Regions from separate parts of the Homo sapiens genome. Here region 1 is linked to region 2. The links are contacts of gene promoters, found by promoter capture Hi-C in blood cells and fetal thymus (Javierre and others, 2016). All regions are on one chromosome and are shown on one strand. The core of a region is centred on a gene start or on the middle of the fragment in contact, and the rest is flanking DNA. Distances in the headings are between cores, read along the strand shown. Region 1 overlaps AMD1 (adenosylmethionine decarboxylase 1). Region 2 holds the start of GTF3C6 (general transcription factor IIIC subunit 6).

Region 1 (5,690 bases), core at 3,065-5,564, 81 kb after region 2:
TTTTTTTTTTTTTTGAGATGCAGTCTTGTTCTGTCACCTAGGCTGGAGTGCAGTGGTATGCTATCAGCTCACTGCAAACTCCGCCTCCCAGGTTCAAGCAAGTCTCCTGCCCCAGCCTCCCGAGTAGTTGGGACTGATTACAGGCATCTGCCACCATGTCAGGCTAATTTTTTTTTTGTATTTTTAGTAGAGAAGGTGTTTCACCATGCTGGCCAGGCTGGTCTCGAACTCCTGACCTCAAGCAATCCACCCGCCTCGGCCTCCCAAAGTGCTGGGATTTGGGATTACAGGCATGCACCACCATGCCTGGCCCGAAGCACACAATTCTTAGGTGGTTATAAAACACAAAGAAATATGTAGATTGAGTATTTCCTGATTTGAATTCCTTTTTCTCATCTTAAATGCCACCTCTCTGATCTAACTCAGTGGTTCTCAACTTGTAGTAATTTTGCCACCCAGAAGACATGTGGCAACATTTGGAGACATTTTTTATCACAACTGGGGTGGTGGTGGTGTTGCCAGCATGCAGTGGATAGAGGCCAGGGACACTGCTACACACGGTATAATTAACAGGATAGTCATTGACAACAGTGAATTATCTGAATCAAAATGTCAAGAATGCTGAGGTTGAGATACCCTAATTTCACTTAAAGACTAGATACTAAAATATTAAATATAATCAGAGATCATGATAAATGATCCCAAAGAAAAATAGATGTTCTATATTAATAACAGCACACAAATTGTATGTCTGAAAAACAACACTTTAGTGGCATGCCACATTTTATATTTAAAACATTTTCTTAGAGGCTGAGGTCTAATAAAAATAGAATTTAGAAATGTCTACAGGGACAAGATAATTATATTATAACAAGACTTCTCTATGTCGCCTGATTAAATGCATTTTGGGAGCCCGAGGCAGGCGGATCACTTGAGGTCAGGAGTTCAAGACCAGCCTGACCAACATAGCGAAACCCGCCTCTAGTAAAAATACCAAAATTAGCCAGGTGTGGTGGCGCAGGCTTGTAGTCCCAGCTACTCGTGAGGCTGAGGCAGGAGAATCACTTGAACCCAGGAGGCGGAGGCTACAGTGCACCAAAAATCACACCACTGCACTTCAGCCTGGGAGACAGAGCAAGACAAGCGTGTCTCAAAAAAAGAAGTAAATGACTGAGCTCAACTATCTTGAACAAGAGTCCCAAGCCTACATAACAGGGAAAAACATCGCTTCCACAAATAGTGCTGGGAAAAAATGGATGTCCACATGCAAACAAAATTAAGTTGGACTTTTACCTTACATCATAAACAAAAATTAACTCAAAATGGATCAACAACCTAAACATTAACAGCGAATAAAACTCCTAGAAGAATACATAGGGTAAATGCTTCAGGGCATTACATTTGGCAATGATTTCTTGGATATGACATACAATAAAATCAAAAACAGACAAATGGAACTTGAAAACCTAAAATGTAAACATTTCTATACATCAAAAGAAACGAGTGAAAAGACAACCTACAGAATAAAATACTTGCAAGTCACCTCATAAGGGGTCAATATCCAAAGCAAAAGACACACCTACACACAACTCAACAAAAAGTGATTAAAAAATGGACAAAGGGACCAGGGGCGATGGCTCAATCACTTGAAGTCAGGAGTTCAAGACCAGCCTAGCCAACATGGCGAAACCCTGTCTTTTACTAAAAATACAAAAATTAGCCAGGCATCGTGGTGCATACCTGTAGTACCCACTATTAGGGAGGCTGAGGCAGGAGAATCATTTGAACCTGGGAGGCGGAGGTTGCAGTGAGCTGAGATGGCACCACTGCACTCGAACCTGGGTGACTGAGACTGTCCAAAAAAAAAAAAGACCAAGAACTTAAATACAGAAGGATCCCATTAGTGCAGGGTTATGCTCTAATCACCTGAAAACTCAATACATAGATGCTATTCCCATACCCAGTTAGGTCAGACACTTTCTGAGGATGATGCCTGCAAATTTTTATTTGAAAAGCTTCCAGGTCATTAGATTACTCATTACTTCCTAATGTAAAACCAGCTGGTTTCAGAGTTCAGGTAATTTATCCAAAGTCACTGCAGCTTCTCAATTCTGCTCTTACCTCATATTTTTAGGTCTGTTTTAGAGGCTCTCATTACAGTACATTCATCAGGGTGCCTCTACCCCAGGTAGTAAGCAGTCTTTAGGTAAAAGGCATCCTAAAACCAGATCATTCTTGAGTAAAGCTAGACTGACCAGAAGTTAGATTCTGAGGGTGCCTTCCTGCGGCAGTGAATTCAGATAACCTGAGAAATAAGCCTCCTCCCTTTTGTTCAAAGATATGAACCTATTATCATCACATTATTGTTTCTCTATCTCAAATTTTTACCCCAAATCGGGATACTCCTCTCAGTTTTCTGCTACTTTCAACATGTGCTTCTTAAAGATACATGGTTTGTAAACAACAGTTGAAATATTTTCGTTGTTGTTGAGAGGGTTTCACTCTGCCACCAGATGGAGCGCACTGGTGCAATCTCATTTCGCTGCAGCCTCGATCCCCCAATGGCTCAAAAAAATCCTCCCACCTCAGCTTCCCGAGTGGCTGGGATGCAGACACGCACCAGGATGGACCAGCACGCACAGATAATTTTTCAATTTTTTTTGTAGAGTCAGGATTTCACTATGTTGCCCAGACTGGGCTCTCAAACTCCTTGGTCTCTCAGAGTGCTGGGATTAGACATGAGCCACCAAGCCCAGCCATGAAACCTTTTTGAAACTGCTGGGAGGAATGTAACGAGAAGCTTTATTCTTTAGCAGGAAGCATTTCTACTCTGAAACATTACACTAAAAGGTTTTTTGGCAACGGGTTGTAAATTCCTTCAATGTAAATTATTGATATTGCAATAATGCTGCATAATGATGTAGTCAAATAAGTCATGAGTTTGGGGAAAGTTAAGCTGAGGTATGACTATCTTTACAACTGCCCCAATCCTTTACTAAAAATTATGTTTTAGTTTATAAAATCTGAGTAAAGCACAGTAATAGGATTTCCAGTCCTGAAAAATCATTCTTTTCTCAGCAAAATTTTCTATTTTCTAACAGATTTCCTTCTTACTACTCTCACCCTCCCTAAAGCTGCCATGTCTTATAAAAAGCTTTTGTTTGTTACAGCACTTTGATCCAACAACTAAACCATTTTTTAAATGGTCACTGATTTTTATTCAACATCCGTAAAATCTGAAAAATCAGAGAAAACTGCAGGTTACCCCTAAGAAACCGCCTCTCCCTTAATTGTCCTTTATTCATCTGGATATACCTGGACTGCTGCTTTTCTCCAACAGTATTGTTTAACCCAAGCTATATCATAAAAGATTTTTCTTTGTTAAATTTCTCAGTATTACATAATTTGTTCACTTAAGATAAAATATCTTAAATGGTCTACAAGAGGGAAGCAGTGTTTAGTAAAAAGGTGTACATTCAGAAAAGATTCCAAGCATTAAAGCTTGGACTGATGAGCCAAGTTTGTTTAAAGTGTATTCCCTCACACCACACACAAAATCAATTCCAGATGGATTGCAGATCTAAATATGAAAGGTAAATATCGTGTAGGAGAAAAAAATATTTCAGACTTTGGGATGAGAAAACCGAGGGAAGTATGTTGTTTCCCAGAAGAATGCGTGAAAAAAGTTGGATATTTTCTCCCTTGAATTATACAGAACACTCCAGTGAAATCATCTGGGCCTAGATGATTGACTGATTCAAGTTATTTAGGTGTTCTAGGACTGTTTTGGGTTCTCCATTTCTTCTTGCATTAGTTTTGGAAAGCTATTTTTCCAGGATTTTTTTCTCCCTCATATCCTTATCTTGTTATCCTTGTCTTTAGCATCAATACTAATGCTCTCTTTGGACATTTAAGCCTTTCATTCTCTTAATCGTTTTTATGTCCCTATGTTTATTATGCTTTATAAACAGATTTGTTTAATTCCATCTGTTCATCTTTTAACCTACTTTTAGTTTATTCACATCTTAATAGAGCCCAGGAGGTCAAGGCTGCAGTGAGCCATGATCCTGCCACTGCACTCCAGCCTGGGCTATAGAGGGATCCTGTCTTTAAAGTGTTAAAGATAACAGTTTACGTACTACATATAACATATTAACTTATTTATTCTTCACAACTTCCATGAGCTATGTACCATTATTGTCTCCATTTTACAGATGAGGAAACAGCTCACACAGCTATTAAATGCTGTTTGAATTCAAATCTTGTTATTCCAGAGGCTATGCACTTAATCACGTCATTTGAGTAAAACATGTCACGCTTTATTCTTCTAGATGACCGATTATCCTTCCCTGGGGTCTCTGGGGCTGGCCCCATGTCCCCACCGACCGGACTCCGTCCATGATACTCTCTTTGCTAGGCTGTTGATTTTAGGTGATTCAAGGAACACCTACTATTTCAGGCTTTTTTAAACATCCTGGTAAATAACCTAACCACTTGAGTGGTCACTGAAAAATGTTCCAACGAAGGTTATCACGGGACCTTAGTTAAATCAACATATTTTTCAGTTCTTGCTTAACTTGCTTTATCTACAACAGTTACAATGTGGCAGTGTACTACCAATAGTTGTTCAATGAATGTTACATGTCCACAAAATGGATGGCACTAAATCATCTACACAAGGGAATATTTTGTCCTTCAAAGTTTAACTTTGGCCATGATTTTAAAAGCCACACTGGAGCAGTAAAACAATTTGGGCTGATTAAAGTACAAAGTAAAAAGGGTTCTTAAACATTTAAAGAAAGCAGGCTGCTTTGTAAAAAGCCTCTTCCTCCTCTCTCCACTTTGACTCAGGAAGCTCTAAACAGCCAAACCGCCAAGAACTTGGGGAGAACAAAATCTTCTTCCCTTTATTAAGAACATGTACTTACTATTATTTAAGGGCTCAAACATTTAAAAAGCCAAAGTGACAACTTCTGTTATTCGTTTTCTAGGACTGTTCTTACCCAAGATTTTCTAGGTTCTTGCCAAGATTTTCTAGGTTAATTATCCTGATCACAATCGTTTTACCAAACGTCTATCACAAATACCATCTTTCTCATCTGTGAAATGAAGGAAATACTAAGCTTCTCCATGACCAAAGTCCGCTTCCTATAATCTCACGTGAGCCTGGCACGTAGTAAGCGCTATAGACATTTTAAGTGTCACACGAAGCTTGAAAAAAATGAGACGTGTGACATTTTAGCTATGACTAGTATTTTTTTCTACAATGGAATCGTTCAAGATACACTGCTAGAAACCGGGTTTCCCGTCGTGCCTTAAAGTCTCGGTAGCACGTGTCTGCCTGGATTCCCTTTTCCAGTTGCTTTTTGTCAAGGGACAGCTCCAAGAACAGCTAACACTCCTAAAACGCCCATTGGTCCACACCCTGGGGCCAGGCTCTGAGTGCGGCCCAGGAGCCCATTGGTCGCCGCCTCTCAATGAAGCTGGCCACGCCAGTTACTCCGCTGCACCGCCACCCTAGCCGCACTCGTGCGCAGAGGAGCCAGGGATCCGGTGGCAGGGCCTAGGAAGGCCATTGGTGGCCACCGGTGCGACCGCCGCCAGGAACAAGGCCTAAGCATCCACGGGATCTCTGGGCTTTTATATAAGCATGGATTTCCACAGCAATACCAACTAAAACGCCTCTTCGG
Region 2 (5,685 bases), core at 2,116-4,615:
ATTCGCTGGGCATGGTGGCACACGCCTGTAATCCCAGCTACTCGGGAGGCTGAGACAGGAGAAATGCTTGAACCCAGGAGGCGGAGGTTGCAGTGAGCAGAGATTGTGCCACTGCACTCCAGCCTGGGCAACAAAAGCAAAACTGTCTCAAGAAAAAAAAAAAAATACGTTAACAGTTGAAAGCACAACTGGATTCAAAAGTAACAAACATCTTCAAGGGACAGAAACACAGAGTTATGAGTGAGATTAAACCCATAGGTCTAACAGGCTTCATCCTTGAAATGGAAATTGGGGCCAGGAATTTTACCCTACAGCGTATTGGGATCTAAAATTCTACCAATCAAATTAAGGACCAAAGTCAGACTTACTACCTGAAGCCAAAGTATGGAGTAGGGACATTCTCAATCATGAAAGCCTGAGGAAAAAAATTGCTGCCAACCTGCTGCCTGGAGTTGAAACTTTCAGAAAACTGTATGCCTAGGCAGGACGGAGGATAAGGCCCTTGAGCCAAGGATATGAAGCACAGACACTTCCATACATTGCTACTGTGAGTATAAATTGATACCATACTTTAGAAAGTAGGCTGCTCTGCCTATGAAGTAGCCCTTCTTTTATTCCTTGGCCAGGAGTGGTGGCTCACACCTGTAATCCCAGCACTTTGAGAGGCCGAGGCAGGCAGATCACTTGAGGTCAGGAGTTTGAGATCAGCCTGGCCAACATGGCGAAACCCTGTCTCTACCAAAAATAGAAAAATTACCTAGGCGTGGTGGCAGGCGCCTGTAATCCCAGCTACTCGGGAGGCTGAGGCAGGAGAACTGCTTGAACCTGGGAGGTGGAGGTTGCAGTGAGCCAAGATTGCACCACTGCACTCCAGCCTGGGTGACAGAGTGAGACTCTGTCTCAAAAAAAAAAAGAATTCAGGAGAGTGATCATCTCTGAAGACAGAGGGAAAGAAGTAAGTTTGGAAAGGGGGATAGAAGGACTTCAAATGTATCTGGAATGGGTTCTTTTGTTTGTTTTTGAGACACAGTTTATCTAGCTCTGTTGCCCAGGCTGAAGTGCACTGGTGCGATCTCGGCTCACTGCAACCTCCACCTCCCAGGTTCAAGCAATTCTCGTGCCTCAGTCTCCCGAGTAGCTGGGAGGCACATGCCACCATACCCAGCTAATTTTTGTATTTTTAGTATAAATGAGGTTTTGCCATGTTGGCCAGGCTGGTCTCGAACTCCTGGCCTCAAGTAACCTGCCTGCCTTGGCCTCCCAAAGTGCTGGGATTACAGGATTGAGCCACCTGGCCCAGCCTGGCATTTTTTTTTTTTAACTATAATCTGAGTCACGTTTGGGAAAATGATAGGATATGATACAGCTAGACAGTGGATACATGAGATATTTATTATGCTTAAGTATGATTGAAATAGTTCGTATTAAAAAGGGCTGGGCTAGCAATCACTTACCATGTTCAACATTTTCTTCAAATATAACACAGGTCCCTAGAGTGTCTGCAGAAAAATACAAAGGCAAATTGTTGAGAAGAGCTACCATCTCTGAAAAGCCCATATCAGAAAGAGTTCCATCTATCTGACATCCTCCTACCTTCATACTCCCCAGCAAAGACACAGCTGTCCACTTGCAGAATGGGCCTCTCAGTGTCAATGCCCTACAACAGAATAAAGGATCATAAAAAAAAAACATAATTAGAAAAAGGCTTCAACATTGTAACCTTGCTACCAAGGAAACTAATCTCCAAAACTGGGGAACCTCTAGAGCATCTTGTCCTACCAAGTACAGGATAAACTACAACTGCTCTGATCACAGCAGTTACAACCTGAAGACTACTTAATTCATACTCAAGTAACAAGGTTTATTTCAATCAACATCCTGTTCAAGAGTAAGCTAAAAACAGAGGAAGTTTTGTCAACAGTAGTGCAAAGAGTCTATCTGTCATCTATTTATTTTTTGAGACAGTGTCTAGCTCTGTCACCCAGGCTGGAATGCAGTGGCATGATCATGTTCAGGCAATCCTCCCACCTCAGCCTCCTGAGCAGCAGGGACCACAGGCGCATGCCACCATCCCCAGCTAATTTATTATTATTATTATTTTTTTTTTTTATTGAGATGGAGTTTTGCCCTTTGTTGCCCAGGCTGGAGTACAGTGGCGCGATCTCGGCTCACTGCAACCTCTGCCTCCAGGGATCACGCGATTCTCCTGTCTCGGCCTCCCGAGTAGCTGGGATTACAGGCGCCCACCACCATGCCTGGCTAATTTTTGTATTTCAGTAGAGACGGGGTTACACCATGTTGGCCAGGCTGGTCTCGAACTCCTGGGCTCGTGATCTACCCGCCTCGGCCTCCCAGTATTGGGATTACAGGCGTGAGCCACCGCGCCTGGCCATTTTTTTTTATTATTATTTTAGAGAAGGGGTCTCGTTATGTTGCCTAGGATGGTCTCCAATTCCTGGGCTCAAGTGATCCTCCCACCTCTGCCTCCCAAAGTGCTGAGAATACAGGAATATATGTACGGTTCCATATCACAATGTTACTTCCTCCAAATCTGTAACTTTCTCTTCAGCCACACATTCAAACAGGCAAGCAAAGTTAGCCATTTTCTCCTATCTGCTCCCATAGTCCCCGCTGTACTTCTACATTATACTTAATTACATATTAATTAATTATACTTAGTATACTTCTTATCCTTAGAGTTCACTACTTTGTAAGGTGAAATAAATATATCAATACTTGCGGATAGGTATTTCACCATTGATTCTTGTTTTACATTTAAGACACTCTAGAACAATCCCCCCAAGTCTAGAAAACTCACCAAAACCTTGCATTTATTTTCACATTTTGAGAGGAAGTCTGAATCAATAATTCCTGATAATTCCACCAGAACCAACTGCTCCTGGTGAAAGAAAGAGGGGTTAACATGCTAGCACGCGAGCGGCCAAGAGGGAGCAATTAGCAAAAGAAGCCAAATTTCCCACATTTGTGAAAACCGGACCCTGTTTTCAGCAAGAGGAAACTACGCTACCTAAGGTAACTTCCCGGTACTTCCCATCCCAAGTACGGGGTGACGATTAGGGCTAAGGTCCCAAGCTGCCCGGCTCCTCGCGCCCAGGAGCAAGAAGCCGGTGAGGAGCAGTGGGGCCTCCCTCCGGCCCGCAGCTCCCCAACTCCCTTCCCCACACACAGCCAGCACAGGCATCACCGCCACTGCGGTGCAGGCTTTTGGCGTAGCGCTTACTACCTCCTCTTCCTCGTCTTCTCCGTCCTCTGGACTCCGCTCGTCCGCCGCCGCCGCCATGGTCCCGCGGCGCCTCGCCTTCTAGTCACTGGCCACGCCCGCCCGGAGCCGCCATCTTGAGTACGGGCTTCAGCTCCGAGGCGAAGCAGCTTATTGGGTTCCTGCCGCTCCGCTCCTCGCCGCGCAAATTGCTTCTGCCAGAACTCGAGATGTCGGCTTCCGGCGGGCGGGTGGCTACGGGCGCCGAGAGCGCCGGTACCCACGTGGAGACTCGCCACGGGCCTCCTCGTTTCTCGGTGCCTCAGAGCAGGGGCTGGGGGTGGGCTGCCGTAGGCAGCGGAGCCCGCTCGGTCACGCAAGAGTCGCCGGGCTCTCGGCCCCGCTGGCGGGGAGGACTGGCAAGGCAGAAGGGATAAAGGCGAAAACAAGGAAACCATGGTTTCAGGCGGATCATGGACAGAAAGGCCTTGTGTTTGACCCGAGCACATTTCTTGGAAAGAAATTCTTAATATTGTGTGAGCGCTCATCCTCAATTCAACGTACCCCAAGCCAAGTTAAAGGCACATTCAGTTTAATACTAATGAGCGCCTACACAGTAAAAAGCACTGCACCAGGAGCTATGAAAAATAGAAAGTGGGCTTAAGTTTCAGGCCTGCAGGAGCATAAGATCTGTGAGAGGTACATAAATGGATCCAAGCAAGTGCTGTAAGAGATACACATTGTTATAGGAACACAGAGACCTGGGCAAGAGAAGTTTGAACAGAATTTTCAGAAGTATCCCATAGATGTTTGTGATTGTGAAAGAAACGGTCTTCGTACTTGCGATAGCGTGATCTAGTGGTTAAGATCGTGAGTTTTGGATTTTTATTTATTTATTTATTTGGAGATGGAGTTTTGCTCTTGTTACCCAGGCTGGAGTGCAATGGTGCAATCTCGGCTCACTGCAGCCTCCACCTCCCGGGTTCAAGCGATTCTCCTGCCTCAGCCTCCCGAGTAGCTGGGATTATAGGCATGCGCCACCACGCCCGGCGAATTCTGTTATTTTTAGTAGAGACGGGGTTTCTCCATGTTGGTCAGGCTGGTCTCGAACTCCCGACCTCAGGCGATCCCCCTGCCTGGGCCTCCCAAAATGCTGGGATTACAGGTGTGAGCCACCGTCCCCAGCCTGAGCTTTGGATTTTAATACCAGTCAAGTTCTGCTGCATTATTAACAGCAAGGCTTTGGGCAGATTGGTGGTTGTGAGGATTAAATGAGACAATACATATAAAATAAATTTAGCCCAGTATTCAGCACATAGTAAGCATTTAAAGTGCATTTAATCTATTATTAGTAGTAATATATAAATTTTTTAGTATGATGCTCTTTCTCTCTTTCTTTTATTCATTGTTTGTTTCTTTCTTTCTCTCTTTCTTTCCTTTCTTTTTTGTGACAGGGTCTGGCTCTGTCGCCCAGCCTGGAGTGCAGTGGCGCCATCGTAGCTCCCTGTACCCTCAAACTCCTGGGCTCAAAGGGAGCCTCCTACCTCTGCTTCCTGAGTAACTGGGACTACAGGTGCACGCCACAGCGCCTGTCTTTACATAATGGTTGTATGAGTGTGCCATAACTTGATCCTCTATTTTTTAACACATAGGTTATTTACAATTTGTGGATATTGTAAATAACACTCTTTTGTGTATATTTTTGTCCAGTTGCCTAATTAAATGTATAGGATTTCATAGCTTAAAAAAGTAGAAGGAACACTGGACCTGTTAGAAGTACATTTCAATTCTAGCTCTGAAGCTTAATAATTGTGAAGTTTTCCAACCTCAGTTTTCTTATTTATTATATGAGGATGAAAATAATTATACTTAACACCGGGTGCGGTGTCTCAAGCCTGTAATCCCAGCACTTTAGGATGCTGAGGCGGGCGGATCACAAGGTCAGGAGATTGAGACCATTCTGGCTAACACGATGAAACCCTGTCCCTACTAAAAACACAAAAAAATTAGCTGGGCATGGTGGTGTGCACCTGTAGTCCCAGCTACTCCGGAGGCTGAGGCAGGAGAATGGCGTGAACCCGGGAGGCGGAGCTTGCAGTGAGCCAAGATTGTGCCACTGCACTCCAGCCTGGCCGACAGAGCAAGACTCCGTCTCAAAAAATAATAATAATACTTACTGTGTCTTTTTTGCTTGGAAAGCAAAAATTCAATCGTATATCTAAAAATACTTGGTAAACTGAAAAATTACATAAATTGTCAGATTTTGAGGGAGATGTGGGGAGAGTAAGGAGGAGTGGATAATCCAAGCTGAGGGAACAGCAGAAACAAAGGCTTGAGGAATGAAAATATGTGTGTTTTGAAAGGTTAGTGTGTTATAACTCAAGATGTCCCTTTAAAATAAACAAGCCTCATACTTCTAGCAAAAGTTATTGTTTGGTATTTATGAAGTAATTATTTTTATTTAC

The links. The method cuts DNA at HindIII sites, captures the fragments that hold promoters and counts their contacts. A CHiCAGO score of 5 or more calls a contact.
Region 1: a contact is called between a fragment that was not itself captured here and the fragment with the promoter of GTF3C6 in region 2, in 3 of 17 cell types (megakaryocytes, M2 macrophages and M1 macrophages). The highest score is 10.5, in megakaryocytes.

What each region holds. Positions count from the first base shown.
Region 1 is chr6:110,876,149-110,881,838 of GRCh38, reverse strand. The region is part of intron 1 of AMD1 (adenosylmethionine decarboxylase 1); the gene reads right to left. Among named protein-coding and RNA genes, the nearest start is that of AMD1, 4.2 kb to the right of the region's middle. RefSeq lists an enhancer at 5,202-5,690. The HindIII fragment of the contact is 1,622 bases long and covers 3,504-5,125 here.
Region 2 is chr6:110,956,386-110,962,070 of GRCh38, reverse strand. It overlaps GTF3C6 (general transcription factor IIIC subunit 6), which reads right to left and starts at 3,365. Exons shown (of 6, transcript NM_138408.4): 1 at 3,245-3,365; 2 at 2,819-2,899; 3 at 1,594-1,657; 4 at 1,455-1,499. The coding sequence starts at 3,301. RefSeq lists an enhancer at 3,043-3,492. The HindIII fragment of the contact is 8,604 bases long and covers 1-5,023 here.